5 separate regions of the Homo sapiens genome follow, and regions 2, 3, 4 and 5 are each linked to region 1. The links are contacts of gene promoters, found by promoter capture Hi-C in human tissues and cell types (Jung and others, 2019). All regions are on one chromosome and are shown on one strand. The core of a region is centred on a gene start or on the middle of the fragment in contact, and the rest is flanking DNA. Distances in the headings are between cores, read along the strand shown.

Evidence for each region. Contacts are between HindIII fragments. The study calls those that stand out against the background at their distance.
Region 2: the fragment with the promoter of C11orf68 here is called in contact with the fragment with the promoter of AP5B1 in region 1 in 1 of the 25 tissues and cell types used here (spleen).
Region 3: the fragment with the promoter of CATSPER1 here is called in contact with the fragment with the promoter of AP5B1 in region 1 in 1 of the 25 tissues and cell types used here (stomach).
Region 4: a contact is called between the fragment with the promoter of SART1 here and the fragment with the promoter of AP5B1 in region 1, in 5 of the 25 tissues and cell types used here (H1 embryonic stem cells, adrenal gland, lymphoblastoid cells and 2 more).
Region 5: a fragment that was not itself captured here is called in contact with the fragment with the promoter of AP5B1 in region 1 in 1 of the 25 tissues and cell types used here (liver).

The regions. Positions count from the first base shown.
Region 1 is chr11:65,779,648-65,782,573 of GRCh38, forward strand. AP5B1 (adaptor related protein complex 5 subunit beta 1) reads right to left here and starts at 1,329. Exons shown (of 2, transcript NM_138368.5): 1 at 795-1,329; 2 at 1-695. The coding sequence starts at 944. RefSeq lists silencers at 403-672, 823-1,002, 1,043-1,782 and enhancers at 411-1,313, 2,043-2,700. The HindIII fragment of the contact is 21,769 bases long and covers 1-2,926 here.
Region 2 is chr11:65,917,802-65,920,706 of GRCh38, forward strand. It overlaps C11orf68 (chromosome 11 open reading frame 68), which reads right to left and starts at 1,261. Exons shown (of 2, transcript NM_001135635.2): 1 at 1,109-1,261; 2 at 1-417. The coding sequence starts at 1,230. It overlaps DRAP1 (DR1 associated protein 1), which reads left to right and starts at 1,625. Exons shown (of 7, transcript NM_006442.4): 1 at 1,625-1,742; 2 at 1,979-2,051; 3 at 2,147-2,240; 4 at 2,542-2,661; 5 at 2,768-2,861. The coding sequence starts at 1,701. RefSeq lists enhancers at 378-1,297, 1,298-2,218 and a silencer at 1,015-2,084. The HindIII fragment of the contact is 24,812 bases long and covers 1-2,905 here.
Region 3 is chr11:66,025,229-66,027,928 of GRCh38, forward strand. CATSPER1 (cation channel sperm associated 1) reads right to left here and starts at 1,251. Exons shown (of 12, transcript NM_053054.4): 1 at 1-1,251. The coding sequence starts at 1,151. The HindIII fragment of the contact is 11,043 bases long and covers 1-2,700 here.
Region 4 is chr11:65,960,294-65,962,993 of GRCh38, forward strand. SART1 (spliceosome associated factor 1, recruiter of U4/U6.U5 tri-snRNP) reads left to right here and starts at 1,441. Exons shown (of 20, transcript NM_005146.5): 1 at 1,441-1,800. The coding sequence starts at 1,488. RefSeq lists an enhancer at 1,299-2,086. The HindIII fragment of the contact is 22,503 bases long and covers 1-2,700 here.
Region 5 is chr11:65,943,561-65,946,377 of GRCh38, forward strand. TSGA10IP (testis specific 10 interacting protein) reads left to right here and starts at 1,920. Exons shown (of 8, transcript NM_152762.3): 1 at 1,920-2,262. The coding sequence starts at 2,116. It overlaps LOC105369350 (a long non-coding RNA gene), which reads right to left and starts at 1,964. Exons shown (of 3, transcript XR_950212.3): 1 at 1,877-1,964. The HindIII fragment of the contact is 7,163 bases long and covers 1-2,817 here.

The DNA of each region.
Region 1 (2,926 bases), core at 79-2,578:
GTGAGCAGATAGGAGGTGTCCAGAAGCTGGATCACCGCAGCCCGCAGCTCCCGCGCCTCCTCAGGGCTGTGCTCTCGTGCTGTAAGGCTACGCTCCCCCTCTCCCTCCTCAGCTGCCGGCCAGCTGGGTGCCTGGGGCTGAAGGCGTCCATCGCCCTCCTCCACTAGTGTCCAATCCCAGGGACCACCCCCAGTTGGGGAGACCTTATCCGTGAGCAGTCCCCCCAGGCCAGCCCCAACCCGGGACTGGAGCACCAAGGTGTTGCGCAAAGCGAGGGCCAGCAACAGGCTGAGTGGCTGGACAGGGCCTTCCTGCCCCAGCAGGCCCCGCAGCAACCCCAGGGAGCCCCCCAGCAGCCCGGGCTTGCAGCTCTCTAGCTCTCGCAGGCACTCGCAGGCCGTGGCCTGCAAGGGGCGCTGTTCCGAGGCGGGGACAAAGCCTCGCCCCAGATCGCTACCCGCGGCCAGGCCGAGCAGTAGGGGCAGGAGCCGGCAGGAGGCGCCCGAGGTGGGGCCCAGCGCGCCGCCCGCCGCCAGGGCAGTGGTGGCCGCCAGCAGCAGTGGCCGACGGAGAGCTGAGGGCCGCGGGGGTAGGAGGACCAAGGTGTCCAACAGGGAGGTGGCGGCCACTTCGGCCGCAGAGGCGTCGGGCCACAGCTGCGCAGGGTACTCCATGCTCAGGGCCAGCAGGGAAACCTGGATGGGGGATTAGGAGGGAATCACGAAGATGAGGTTCATGACGCGGCGGGCTGGGGTGACCCTGCGGAACGGCGCAGGGGACGCGTGGGGGCCTACCTTGGTCTGTTCGCTCAGCTTCTCACTTCTCAGGTCGCTCAGCAGGTCGCGACCCAAATCCTCCCCCTCGGGACCTGCCATGAAGGCAGACGGGCTGGCCCGGAAGGCCCCCAAGCGCTGGGCCCAGGCGTCCCGGCTCAGGGGCCCCATGGTGAGGCGCGCGGGCCCCTGCGCAGGGAAGAGGGACCCTCAGGCCGCAGCCACCGGGAGCGCGGGGCCCGCTGCCGACCCCGAGGGGCTGCGGTCACCCCCAGACGCCGCGCAGATGCCGGCGGGACCCGCGCCCGGCTCCCACGGTGAGACCAGGGCTCTCGGGGCCGACGCCAGAGCTGGGCGCCGGGGCCCTCGCGGGACAGGACAGGAGCAGGGCGGGGGAGGGTGCGTGCCGAGAGCTCGTTAGGCCGCCTCCCTCCCGCCCGCGGCCCGCACCGAAACCACAGCGCCACCCCGGCCCCCGGCGCCGGCGGTAACGGGCCGCGCTCGCCGCCTGACTCAGCCGCCGCGGGCACTCAGGCCGGCCGGCTCCTTCCGGGCTGGCGGCGCGGGGCGGGGCGCGGCGCGGGGGCGGCCGAGTCCGGGCGGGGAGGGGCGGGGCGTAACGGGGCCACCGCCTCCCGCAGGTGTCGACTCGCAGGTTTCGCGGGGGCTGACTAACTGTCCCGCCGCGCAGGCCCCCTTCCCCGAAACCGCCGCAGGCCGGGGCAGGAAAGGCGGAGGGGAGTGGGTAGGGGTGGCGGAGCGGGGTGGGCCTGGGCCCCAGATGCCGGGTACCGCGGCGCAGGGCTGCGATCCCGCGGCCCTCGGCGGACAGCGGCCCGGTCCCACCAGCGCCCGCCAAGCCGCGCAGGGCGGCAGCCAGCGCGCCCCCCGCCGGCGCCCGGGCACACCGCACCCTGCGCCAGACGCGCGGCCCCGGGGGGCGTGGGTGCGGGTCCTGGGGCTCCCGGAGTGGCCCCTGGGGGTGACCAAGGTGCGGTCGCAGGGCGCCCGCAGGAAAAGCGCCCCAGCTGAACCGGTCCGGCGGGCGCCGCAGGGCTTGGCTTCGCTTCCCTGACGCCTGCCCGGGCCCCCAGCCCGCTCGGCTTGGGGGCGAGGAGCCGGCGCCGCGGTTGCGGCCAGCCAGGAGCTTCTGACCTTTGTTTGCCCGAGGCCGCGCTGGCGGCCCGCAGGGGTCGTGACGGCGAGGGCGGGGCAGGGCCCTAAGTCGAAAACAACGGGATCCATACTCGGGAAGTGCGGGCTGTCAGGGCCTGGCCGGTCACGGGGCTCGAGGCATGCCTAGCGATGGGGAAAACAGGCCCAGGAGGAGGGCGGCCTTGCCAACCGAGATCTGGGGCCAAGCCGGGCCGGAACCCAGCACTCCAGACTTCAGTGGGCTGGATTCTGGCTGTTTGGGGGCATTCGGGGGTCTGGGCGGCGGTCTCTCCCAGGCCAGAGGCCCAGGTTGCAGGTGCCCCACAGACCACCGGTTTCCAGGGCACAGAACCGCCGGCGCCCAAACCTCACCACCCCTCTGGCTCCAATTAGCCGCTTTGAAGATGAAACAGGCCTGAGCCCCCATGCAAGCCAGTGCCAGCTGGCCTCTCCCTACCCCATCCTGCTCCAGATGGGAGGTGGTGGAGAGTTGAGGGGTGGAGAGTGCCAAAAAGGAGGCTGTCTGGGTGCCCTTGGGGATGGAGAGATAGAGACCCACTCGGAGGGACAGGTCCAGCCAGAAGGCCCGGTCCCGGCTCCTCTAGGCCCTGGCTCCACAGTTGACTCACAGGCAGCAGCCCCAAACTACTTCCCTCTAGGTGCCTCAGTTTCCCCATCTATAAAATGGGAGTGATAACTCCCACCCAAGAGGCTGTGGGGTGAGGCAGCCTGGCTAATTAAACCCAAGATGAAAGAGGCAGGATGAGAGCAGCCCTGGGGAGGGGAGGCAGCCTGCAGTAGGAGCCAGTCTGGTTTCTCTGTCTGAGCCCAGAGGGTGCTGGTAACTGCACATCCCCGGCCCTCACCACCCTCACGGTGAGGCAGGAATGATCATTAAACTTCTTGCAGAGTTGAGAAGACAGGTTTCCAAGGATCAGGGGGCCTGACACTGGCTCTGGCCCCGGCTCAGCCTCTGACAGCGTGGCCTCTGCACACCT
Region 2 (2,905 bases), core at 11-2,510, 140 kb after region 1:
TTGAAGCCCGGTGCCAGATGCATAAGCCACTTGCCCGAGAGCACGTGGTGGGTGATGGCGAGCTGGCGCAGGGTACCCGGTGTGATGGGCCGCCCACTGGTCTGCAGAGCTTCCCAGGCTGCCTGCAGGCCCTGCACGTCCCCGGAGTTGGGGCTGTAGCCCTGCCCATACACTGCAATCCAGCCCACAGGCTCTGAGTTGGGTGAACCGGGGTCCCCATAGCGGGTAACTTGGGATGGTGGGTACTTGGCCAGCCAGGCATCCAGCTCAGTGGCAGGCGTTGTGCGGGCATCAAACACTAGCCAGGGGTCCATGTCAGCTGCCATGGCCTCTGCAGCCAGGTGCTCGGCGGTGAAGCCATCCTCACGGCCACCTGGAGAGCCCTCCTCTTCCAGCTCCTCACCTGGTTCCATCCTGCTGTGAGGGAACCGAGTCAGGGCAGGGTCTGAGACAATAACTACAGATGCCAGGCACTGGATTAAACTGTGGCCTTGAGTAAGAGTTACTGTCGATGCGCCTCAGTTGCCTCATCTTTACAATGGGATAACAACTGTTCCTGTCCCGTAGATCTGCTATGAAAATTAGATGCCTGAGGAGTCAGCGCTCCAGAAGGGTTGCTGCAGTTATTACTATTCTCCTTGACTTACAGAAAAGGAAACTGAGGCTGAGAAAAAGGACTTGCCCAAGGTCACACCTGCAGTGCGTGGCAGGGCCGAAGGGTGAATCCAGGCGTGGGAGCAACCAGCCCCAGCTACACCTCCCGGCCCTGCCAAGGCCCCCTTTTCCTGGCAGGTATCCGGTGCGCTGGCATTTAATAGAGGAACGCAAAGAAGCGCACGTTCGCGCAGCTCCCGAGGCCGGCTCTGTAAGGCCAGGCCTCCCAGGCAGGCGTTATCGGGCCCACTTACAGACGAGGACGCTGAAGTCCAGAGAGGTTACAGGCCGTTCCGAGGCCAATGGGGCGGTTCCCAGACTCGAACCAGGGCTTGTTAGAGCCTGCAGGAGAGCCAGGCTCCGGCCGTGCCGCGCCCGCCGCCATTAACGCCCACGGGCCCGAGCTGTGCTCCCGCCCCGGCCCTGCCCTGCCCCTCCCGCCGCCCGCAGTCACCTCCGGCCTTCGCTGCGTTCGACGCCGGCCCAGCCCCGGGCCCGGCTCCGCTCCTGCCGTGGCTCCGCGCCACCGCCACCGCGCCCCACCCCCGCCACGGCCGCCGCCGCCGCCGCCGCCATCTTAGCGCCGCGCCACCTCAACAACAACTTTATAGACAGGCGCAGCCACAGGGCGGAGCCGCGGGCCTCAGCGGCCGCAGCGGCCGCGCTGTGGGGCGGGGCCGGCAGGGGAAGGGGCGGGGCCGACGGGGAGGTGCTGACTCGGGGGCGGGGCCATCGCGGGAACCCCGGGAGGGGCGGGCCGCGGGGGGCGGGGCCAACGTTCGCTCTTCTGGCCTTGGGGGCGGGCGGGAGCGGCGGTCCAGACTGGGGAGGGACGCGCACCGGCCAGGAGGCTTCAAGAGGAGGGCACTAGGGCCCTGCGAGCGGCGTCTTAACCGGCGGCGCTAGGACTCCGCGGGAAACGGCGGGGGCGGAGCGGGCGGCACCAGGACCCAGGGGAACCGCGACGGGCGGGCGGCGAGCAGGCCCGGGAGCCGGGAGGCTGCGGGCGGCGGCGCTGGACCCGACGCGGCGAGAGAGGCCCCGAGATGCCGAGCAAGAAGAAGAAGTACAACGCGCGGTTCCCGCCGGTGAGCACGTGGCAGAGCCCGGCAGGAGTGGGCCCGGCTCCCGGGTGGCTTGGGCCCAGTTCCCGCTGGGCAGGCGGGCGCGCCGCGGTGTTCGGGGGCCTGGACGCCCCGCCCCCTCCATGCCCTCCCCGCGTCCGTGTCCCCCGCCCCCTTTCTCCGGGGATGCCCCTTCCTCCCCCAGCACCCCCTTAGGGGACGGTGGCGACGGGGTCTGAACTCTGCTCCCCCACCCGCAGGCGCGGATCAAGAAGATCATGCAGACGGACGAAGAGATTGGGAAGGTGGCGGCGGCGGTGCCTGTCATCATCTGTATCCTGCCGGGGGCGGACCGGGTCGAGGGGCGTGGGGGAGGGAGGCAGCGGGTCGCCCTCTCCTGCCCCGGAGTTCTCCTTGACGCTCCTCAGCCCGGGCGCTCGAGCTCTTCCTAGAGTCGCTGTTGAAGAAGGCCTGCCAGGTGACCCAGTCGCGGAACGCGAAGACCATGACCACATCCCACCTGTGAGCGGCGAGGAGCCGGGAGGGGCCGGCGGGTTTGGCGCGGGGAGTTCACACACTGAGGAAGGCAGAGCCTGGGTGGCGAGGGAGGTGGGCGGCAGCCGGGACACCAGCAAGGCCACAGACTGGCAGAGGAGAGGCTGGGCTTCCAGGCAGAGGGAGCCACCTGAGTAAAGCAGGGCAGGCCCGGGAGCGGAGATCGGCCCGGGCTCCAGCCTGACATCTGGGGCCCCTTGCTGCCACCCACTGCGGGTTTGGGTGTCTGGGCCCCTCTTGAGTGCCAGCCCCTCCTCACCTCTTCCAGGAAGCAGTGCATCGAGCTGGAGCAGCAGTTTGACTTCTTGAAGGACCTGGTGGCATCTGTTCCCGACATGCAGGGGGACGGGGAAGACAACCACATGGATGGGGACAAGGGCGCCCGCAGGTGGGGCCAGGGCCTGGCATACAGTGGGGAAGGCCAAGGCCACAGGGCTTGGGGGTGGCCAAGGAGTAGGGAGCACTCCGGGCAGATGGACTGTACCTTCCCAAAGGGGCCGGAAGCCAGGCAGCGGCGGCCGGAAGAACGGTGGGATGGGAACGAAAAGCAAGGACAAGAAGCTGTCCGGGACAGACTCGGAGCAGGAGGTGAGTGAGGCCCCAGCCCTTCGCCCTGCCCTTGGTGATGGGAC
Region 3 (2,700 bases), core at 1-2,500, 250 kb after region 1:
TGGGTATGGACTTTTTTGGACATCTGGGTGACACGTGAGCGGATTGTGCTGGAGGACCGAGTCATGCTGTGAGCCGAGCCCCGTGGGTGTGCTACGTGATAGGGGAAGACTCCTGTACGAGAAGCAGCAGGGCCGGGGGCATCGTGAATCAGGCTCCGGGATGTGTGTGGGATAGAGAGTTGGGAAGTGCTCTGGACGTAGTCGCCATGGAGGTAACTGGAATGATACGCGCCGTGGTGGTCTTGGTGCTGATGGTAGTCTCGGTGCCGGTGGGTCTGGTGGTAGTGGTGCTGTGTGTGGTGGGGATGGTCGCCATGGTGGTACTCACTGGGGTGGTGATCACCTTGGTGGTACTCGCTGTGATAGTCAGATATCCCACGCTGGTAGGACCCCACAGAGGAATGAGGGGAAATGGTCTCTCCGTGATGAGGAGACTTTCCATGCTGGTGGGCTTCATGATGACGGGACCTGCCATGGTGGTGGACTTGGTGATGGTGGGGCCAGCCACGGTGGGGGACTTGGTGATGCTGGGACTCATCGTGTTGGAGCCCGCTAAGGTGGGAAGCCTCGCTGTGGTGGAAGGACTCACTGTAGGGATTGGGTCCATGGGGGAGGTAGGACCCACCATGGTGGGAAGCCTCACCGTGGTGGGGCACGCCAGAGGAATAGTGGGATAAATTCTCACCGAGATATTGGGGTCTGCCATGGTGAGACCCCCTATGGTAATGGGAGTCACTCTGCTGATGGAACCCACCGTATTGGGACCCATCATGATGCCTCCTGCCATCACGTTGGAGCTCATCATGGTAGTCCTCACCGTAGGAACGGTGGGAGGGGACGGCGCCTTGAGAGGGAGCCAGACCAAAGCCTGTGGGGCCATGGGCTCTGCCGTGATTCCGTGCCTCGCTGTGGTGGTGAGATTGGTGGACATGGGAGGACAAGGCTTGGTCGTGGAAGTCTTGGAACTCCGGAGGGTGGTGAGATTCACCACGTTGGTGGGGCACGCCGTGATGGTGCAACTCGTAATGGTGGAGAGCTCTGCTGTGGCCTGGCCTGTGGTGTGGGGGTGATGAGTGAGAGCGAAAGAACCTATCTGCGTTATTGGTGTCTGCCTCATTCTGAGCCTTTTCAGGCACTGAGTTTTGATCCATGACTGTGCTGGGAACTCTGGAGCCAAAAGAGCTCAAGACCTGGGCCCAACAGGCCCCGCCTGGATTTCCCTTCTTTCCTGAGCCAAGCTCAATGCAGACTGTGGCACTGGGCTTCCAGAAAGGCCTGACTATTCTCGTGGAACTCTCCCCTCTATGATGTCACCAGCAGGCCAGGGCCTCATTCCCAAATGCCTCTTCCTGGGCTATAGTTCGGAATCAAGAATTATTGTGTCAAACTCCTTCATTGTAAATGAGGAAACCGAGGTCAAGAAAAGGGAAGGACTAGACCAAGGTGACCTCACAGGTCACTGGCAAAGCTGGACAAAGAAGTCCATGGGGGCGCCATGGCTTCATCAGCTACTTTAGCCCTGTTGTTGGAAAGAAAATGGTCCAAGTGGTCCAGTCTTCAGTCCCATCTAGAGATCAGCTGGCTCTGGGGTGAAGACTGCCTGACTCCCTCATAAGTAGGTGTGTGACCTTGGGCTTGTTGCTGAACTTTCCCGTGCCTCAGTTTCTTCCTCTGTAAAATGGGAATAATAATACCTAGCCCACAGGATCAAAAAAGTTAAGATATGTAAGCCTTATATTAACAGCATAATACATGGTTTTTGTTGTTGTTGTTGTTGTTTGTTTCTTTGTTTGTTTTTGAGATGGAGTCTCGCTCTGTCGCCCAGGCTGGAGTGCAGTGGCACGATCTTGACTCACTGCAACCTCCACCTCCCAGCTTCATGCCATTTTCCTGCCTCAGCCTCCCAAGTAGCTGGGACTACAGGCGCCCACCACCACGCCCGGCTAACTTTTTCTATTTTTAGTAGAGACGGGGTTTCACCATGTTAGCCAGAATGGTCTTGATCTCCTGACCTCGTGATCCGCCTGCCTTGCCCTTCCAAAGTGTTGGGATTACAGGTGTGAGCCACTGCGCCCAGCCCATGTTTTTTTGTTTTTGTTTTTGTTTTTTGAGACAGTCTCACTGTCACCCAGGCTGGAGTGCAGCGGCATGATCTCCACTCATGGCAATCTCTGCCTCCCAGGTTCAAGTGAGCCTCCTGCCTTAGCCCCCTGAGTAGCTGGGATTACAGCCACCCACCACCATACCCCACCCCGGCTAATTTTTTTTTTTTTTTTTTTGAGACAGAGTCTTACTCTGTCACTAGGCTGGAGTGCCGGGGTGCAATCTTGGCTCACTGCAATCTCTGCCTCCTGGGTTCAGGCAATTCTCCTGCCTCAGCTTTCCTAGTAGCTGCGACTACAGGTGCACACCACACCCAGCTAATTTTTGTATTTTTAGTAGAGACGGGGTTTCACCATGTTGACGAGGCTGCTCTTGAACTCCTGACCTCAAATGATCCACCCACCTCGCACTCCCTAAGTGCTGGGATTTCAGGTGTGAGCCACCATGCCTGGCCAATACATGTTAATTGGCATTATTATTCTCTTCTTGATCTTGGAACCCCCCTTTAGGGTTATTACCAAAATTAAACTATCAGCCATCATTTATTGAGGATTGCTTCATACACATTTTGTTTTCTTTCTTTCTTTTTTTTTTTTT
Region 4 (2,700 bases), core at 191-2,690, 180 kb after region 1:
GCGCATACAACATAGCCTAACACATGCTGAGTTGTGCCACACAGGGAGCCACAGACTGAGCAACCACTGGGTGAGGGGAGGGGTTTCAGGAGAGATTGGGATTGTGTGCACTGCGCTTTTTTTTTTTTTTTTTAAGACAGAGTCTCGCTCTGTCACCAGGCCGGAGTGCAATGGTGTGATCTCAACTCACTGCAACCTCTGCCTCCCAGGTTCAAGCGATTCTCCTGCCTCAGCCTCCTGAGTAGCTGGGACTACAGGTGTGCGCCACCACACCCAGCTAATTTTTGTATTTTTAGTAGAGACGGGGTTTTACCATGTAGGCCAGGATGGTCTCGATCTCTTGACCTCGTGATTCGCCTGCCTTGGCCTCCCAAAGTGCTGGGATTACAGGCGTGAGCCACCGCGCCCGGCCTGCACTGGGGTTTTAAGTCCCAATAGTTTTAAGTTAGGGCTGGTCTCCTCAAGAAAAAAACTCATACACACAGATGTGCCACATTTTGCATTCAATTTCAGGGGTTCCAGGGATACACTGACGCCCATGTGGAGCTCCTAAACAATCTTAACAGTTCACGGGGCCAGGTTTTAAAAATCCAATCCAGGGCCAGGCGCAGTGGCGCATGCCTGTAATCTCAGCACTTTGGGAGGCCAAGGCGGGTGTATAGCCTGAGCTCAGGAGTTCGAGACCAGCCTGGCCAACATAGTGACCCCACCCCCTACCCCCGCTCCCCACCAACCATCTACAAAAAAATACAAAAATTAAAGGGGCGTGGTAGCGTACTCTCGTAGTCCCAGCTACTGGGAAGGCTGAGGTGGGAGGATCACTTGAGCCCAGGAGGTCGAGGCTGCAGTGCGCTGTGATCACGCCACTGCACTCCAGCCTGAGCAACAGAGTGAGATCCTATCTCAAGGGAAAAAACAAAACAAAACAAAACAGGGAACGTGGGAAGGAAGCGTTCCCTGACGATACTGGTTATAGCGGGTCTGAAGCTGGGCTGTGGAATTGGAGATCTCGGGAAAACAACACCCGTTGGAGCCACGACCCTAGGAGTCCACTAAGCGAGCGCCCATTGTAGGAGGGAGGTGTCTACGGAAAGACCGTGAGGTAGTGAACACCCCGTTGCCGGTGAAGTGCAAGCGCAGGGAGGCCGGGGAGGAACTTAAAGCCACGAAGACACTGACTTAATGGGCTCTAAGTCCTTCCAGTTCTGGGATCCCACCTCCGGGTTAATTCCGCTTCCCTTGAGGAGCGCATGCGCAATGGGACCACTCGCTCAAAGAACCCACCCGACCCGAGACGGCGCGAATGTGCAGTCGAGCGCTGATCCCGGCCTTCCCATGAGCCTCTGGGGCAGGCTCCAAGGCGAGCGACGGAAGCAGCCGCTCTTAGTTTCCGGCAACACGACAGCGGCTGCCGAGCGACCCGGAAGTATTCCCATTTTGCGTTGTCTGGGCTCGGCGGCAGCCGGGCTCGGAGTGGACGTGCCACTATGGGGTCGTCCAAGAAGCATCGCGGAGAGAAGGAGGCGGCCGGGACGACGGCGGCGGCCGGCACCGGGGGTGCCACCGAGCAGCCGCCGCGGCACCGGGAACACAAAAAACACAAGCACCGGAGTGGCGGCAGTGGCGGTAGCGGTGGCGAACGACGGAAGCGGAGCCGGGAACGTGGGGGCGAGCGCGGGAGCGGGCGGCGCGGGGCCGAAGCTGAGGCCCGGAGCAGCACGCACGGGCGGGAGCGCAGCCAGGCAGAGCCCTCCGAGCGGCGCGTGAAGCGGGAGAAGCGCGATGACGGCTACGAGGCCGGTGAGGAGGCGGGGCCTGCGCAGGGGGCGGGTCGGGCGGGGGTCCCGGAACGCGTGGGTCTGGGTGTGCGCGCAGTGTCAGCGAAGCTCTTCAGGCCAGGAAACCCCCAAGCTGTTTACCAGCTCTATTAAATAGTCTTTCTACGGGATCCCTTGAGCCCAGGAGTTAGAGGCTGCAGTGAGCTGCGGTCCCGCCAGTGTACTCCAGCCTGGGCAACAAAGCGAGACTCTGTCTCAAAAAGAAAAAAGTCTTTCTACGGTTGTTTAGGATTAGAGGTTGACTTTCTCCACTCAGCTGCTTGAGGACAGAGGGCTTCTGTTTTCCTCAGTTGTCTGGTACAATCAGATTCTCAATAAATATGTTGAATGAGTGAATGAAGTAGTGTCAGCATATACAGAGGCAAGAAAAACCTGGTATTGGACGAATCGTGTAGGGCGCATGGTAGAGAAATGAGGGAGTAAGATAGACAGGGATGTGAACACAAAGGACCCTGTACTGTAGTCTCTGTTAAGAACTGTAGATTGTCTTGAGGATAGTAGGGAGCCATGGATGTGAGTTGAGGAGTGAGTTGCTCAGATCCGTATTTTGTAAACATCACTGGATTGAGAATTTAGTCAAAGGTAGTCAGGACTGGAGACCAGGAAACCAGGAGGGCTATAGGCCAGGGGAGGGCTGATGGTGGCCTGCACCAAGGCAGCAGCAGTGGGATTGAGAGAAGTGGACAGGTTGGAGAGGTGTTTTGGAGGAGGAATGAACAGAACTCAGCACTTGTATGAGGGTGGGAAGAAGGAATGGAGGATGACTCCTTGAATTTTGGCTTGAGCAGCCAGATAGGTAGTGGGTGTCATTTCTACTGAAATTGAGGAGTAGGGAAGAGAAGCAGATTTGGAGCGGGGGTGG
Region 5 (2,817 bases), core at 181-2,680, 160 kb after region 1:
GGCCACAGTCTGAGAAAAATCCTGCCTCTATGGCATCTTCCAGGATAGTCTGCTTCCCTGGGGCCACATCATTGATTAATTAATAACAGCAACACGGCCCGGTGCAGTGGCTCACACCTGTAATCCCAGCACTTTGGGAGGCCAAGGTGGGTGGATCACTTGAGGTCAGGAGTTCAAGACCAGCCTGGCCAACATGGTGAAACCCTCTCTCTACTAAAAATACAAAAAATTAGCCGGGCATGGTGGCACATGCCTGTAATCCTAGTTACCCGGGAGGCTGAGGTGGGAGAATCGCTTGAACCCAGGAGGCAGAGGTTGCAGTGAGCCGAGATCACATCACTGCACTCCAGCCTGGGCAACAGAGCAAGACTCCATCACAAAAAGAAAAAAAAAAGATAATAAGAATAACAGCAATGCTAACATAGCAGTTCCCATGAGCCATGAGGATGTTCTGTTTGTATCTGCATAGTGATTTAATCCTTACCACTACCCTGGGAGTAGATCCGATTATAACCATCCCCTCCCCATTGCCTATGAGAAAACAGGCACCGAGAGGGTACGGGACAAGTGGAGGAGCTGGGATTTGCACCCAAGCGCTTCCTCTATGCTCTTAGCCATGATGCTCTGCTGCCTCAAAAGAACGGCCAGCTAGTGTTAGTAATAATAACATTTACCGATGTCATCGTTTGGGGTTTCATGTAGTCCTTGCAACAAACCTATGAGCTGGGCCCGTGATTCCAGTTTTGCAGAGTGGGGAGTTGGTCACAGAGCTAGTGAGACCAGGCCTCCAGCCCAGTTGGTCCGTCTCCAGGGCCTCAGCTCAGCACCACATCCCTGTACTGCAAGCCTCAGTGGTCAGCACCAGGCGTCCCATGGGGACTTAAGATTCCAAGGCTTTTGAGCACTGCTAGAAGTTTGGGGTAAGATCTTTTACTTTTTTTATATTAAAAAAATATATTTTTTTGAGATGGAGTCTCACTCTTTCGCCCAGGCTGGAGTACACTGGTGTGGCCTCGGCTCACTGCAACCTCCACCTCCCGGGTTCAAGAGAACCCGGAGAGGGAGAGCCTCAGCCTCCCGAGTAGCTGGGATTACAGGTGCCCACCACCATGCCCGGCTAATTTTTGTATTTTTAGTAGAGATAGAGTTTCAATCCAGGTGGGAGATGGGGTTTCACCATGTTGGCCAGGCTGGTCTCCAACTCCTGACCTCAGGCAATCCGCCCACCTCGGCCTCCCAAAGTGCTGGAATTACAGCCACTGCCCGGCCTGGGGTAAGCTTTCAATGTTGTAACTCCCTCCAGAACCTCATGGCCTATGAAGATGGCCAGGTGGGCCTGGGCCCAGGCTCTGAATGGCCTGCTGCCTCTCTCCTGGACACAGCATTCAACTTCCTGGCTGGGGCTGGGAGTGCAAAGATTTGTTTATTTGTTTCTTTTTTATTGAGACAGAGTCTCACTCTGTCGCCCTGGCTGGAGTGCAGTGGTGCAATCTGGGGTCGATGCAGCCTCTGCCTCCCGGGTTCAAGTGATTCTCGTGCCTCAGCCTGAGTAGCTGGGATTACAGGCATGCGCCACCAGGCCTGGCTAATCTTTTTTGCATTTTTGGTAGAGATGGGGTTTTGCCATTTTGGCCAGGCTGGTCTTGAACTCTTGACCTCCAGTGATCCACCTGCCTCAGCCCCCCAAAGTGCTGGGATTACAGGTGTGAGCCACCACTCCCAGCCTGGGAGTGCAAGGATTTAAATAAAATCTTGTGAAAGTTCAGTTTGGCTCCTTCAGGGACTCGGCCAGGCCGGGGGGCAGCACAGGAGACAGGCTGACTCCCCTGTACAGATGGATGGGGAAACACAGGCAGAGTAGGGACAGGGGACTTACACCAGGTCACACGGGGAGCCTGTGGATGAGGCAGAGGCAGGACTTGGGCCTGGGTCTCTGCGCTAAATGACTCCTGGGCATCCTGCTGAACTCTCTCCCAGAAGGAGATTGGCCTCACATACCCCACTGACCCCTTCCTAGCATGCTTTTTGCCAGACCCATTGAGACTGGCTGAGGACTGGTTGCCATAGAGATGGCCTGTTAGGCAGTTCTACGGTGCGGATGGGGGATGGGGCAGGATGGGGCAGGACACCGATATGCTAAATACCTACCAACAGTTGGTTAGGACCCCGTCGGTGCGACCAGGGCAGGACGTGCGGCTCCAGGCTCCAGGAACCAGAACGGGGCTGCTCAAGCTGCTGTCGACCGTCTCTCAGGACAAGCAGGTGAGGGAGGCCCAGTGAGGACACTTCCAGCTGCCTAGAGCCAGGTGGGTCAGGGAGGCCTGGGCTGGGGAGGCCCTTGAGAAGCCACAAGACCTGAGCTGAGGTCCAGATGAAACTCAGGGAGGCAGGAGTGGGACAGGGACCACAGGGAGGCCTAAGGGCCTTGGGAGAAGCCGAGGGATGACGCCCAGGAGTGACTCCCAGGGATGATGGGGCCATTCAGGGAACACTGCGGAAGGAGCAGGTTTCAGGAAAGATGAAGACCACCTTGATGAAGACCACCTTGGTTTCTGCCTTGGCTGTAGCAGGTCCAGGGCCCAGTGGGACATTTGGGAGTGCAGTCCAGGGCCCAGAGGTGGCCTAGCGCAATGGTGACAAATCTGGGCTCCACCACTTCCCAGCTGTGTGACCTCAGTTACTCAGCCTCTCTGAGCCTCAGCTTTCTCCTCCACATGATGGAGGTGATAGTGAGTACCGGCCTCCTAGGGTCCTTGGGAAGGTTACGTGTGTTTATGCATGAAAGTCCTGAGCACACAATAGGTGCTCAGCAGGTGG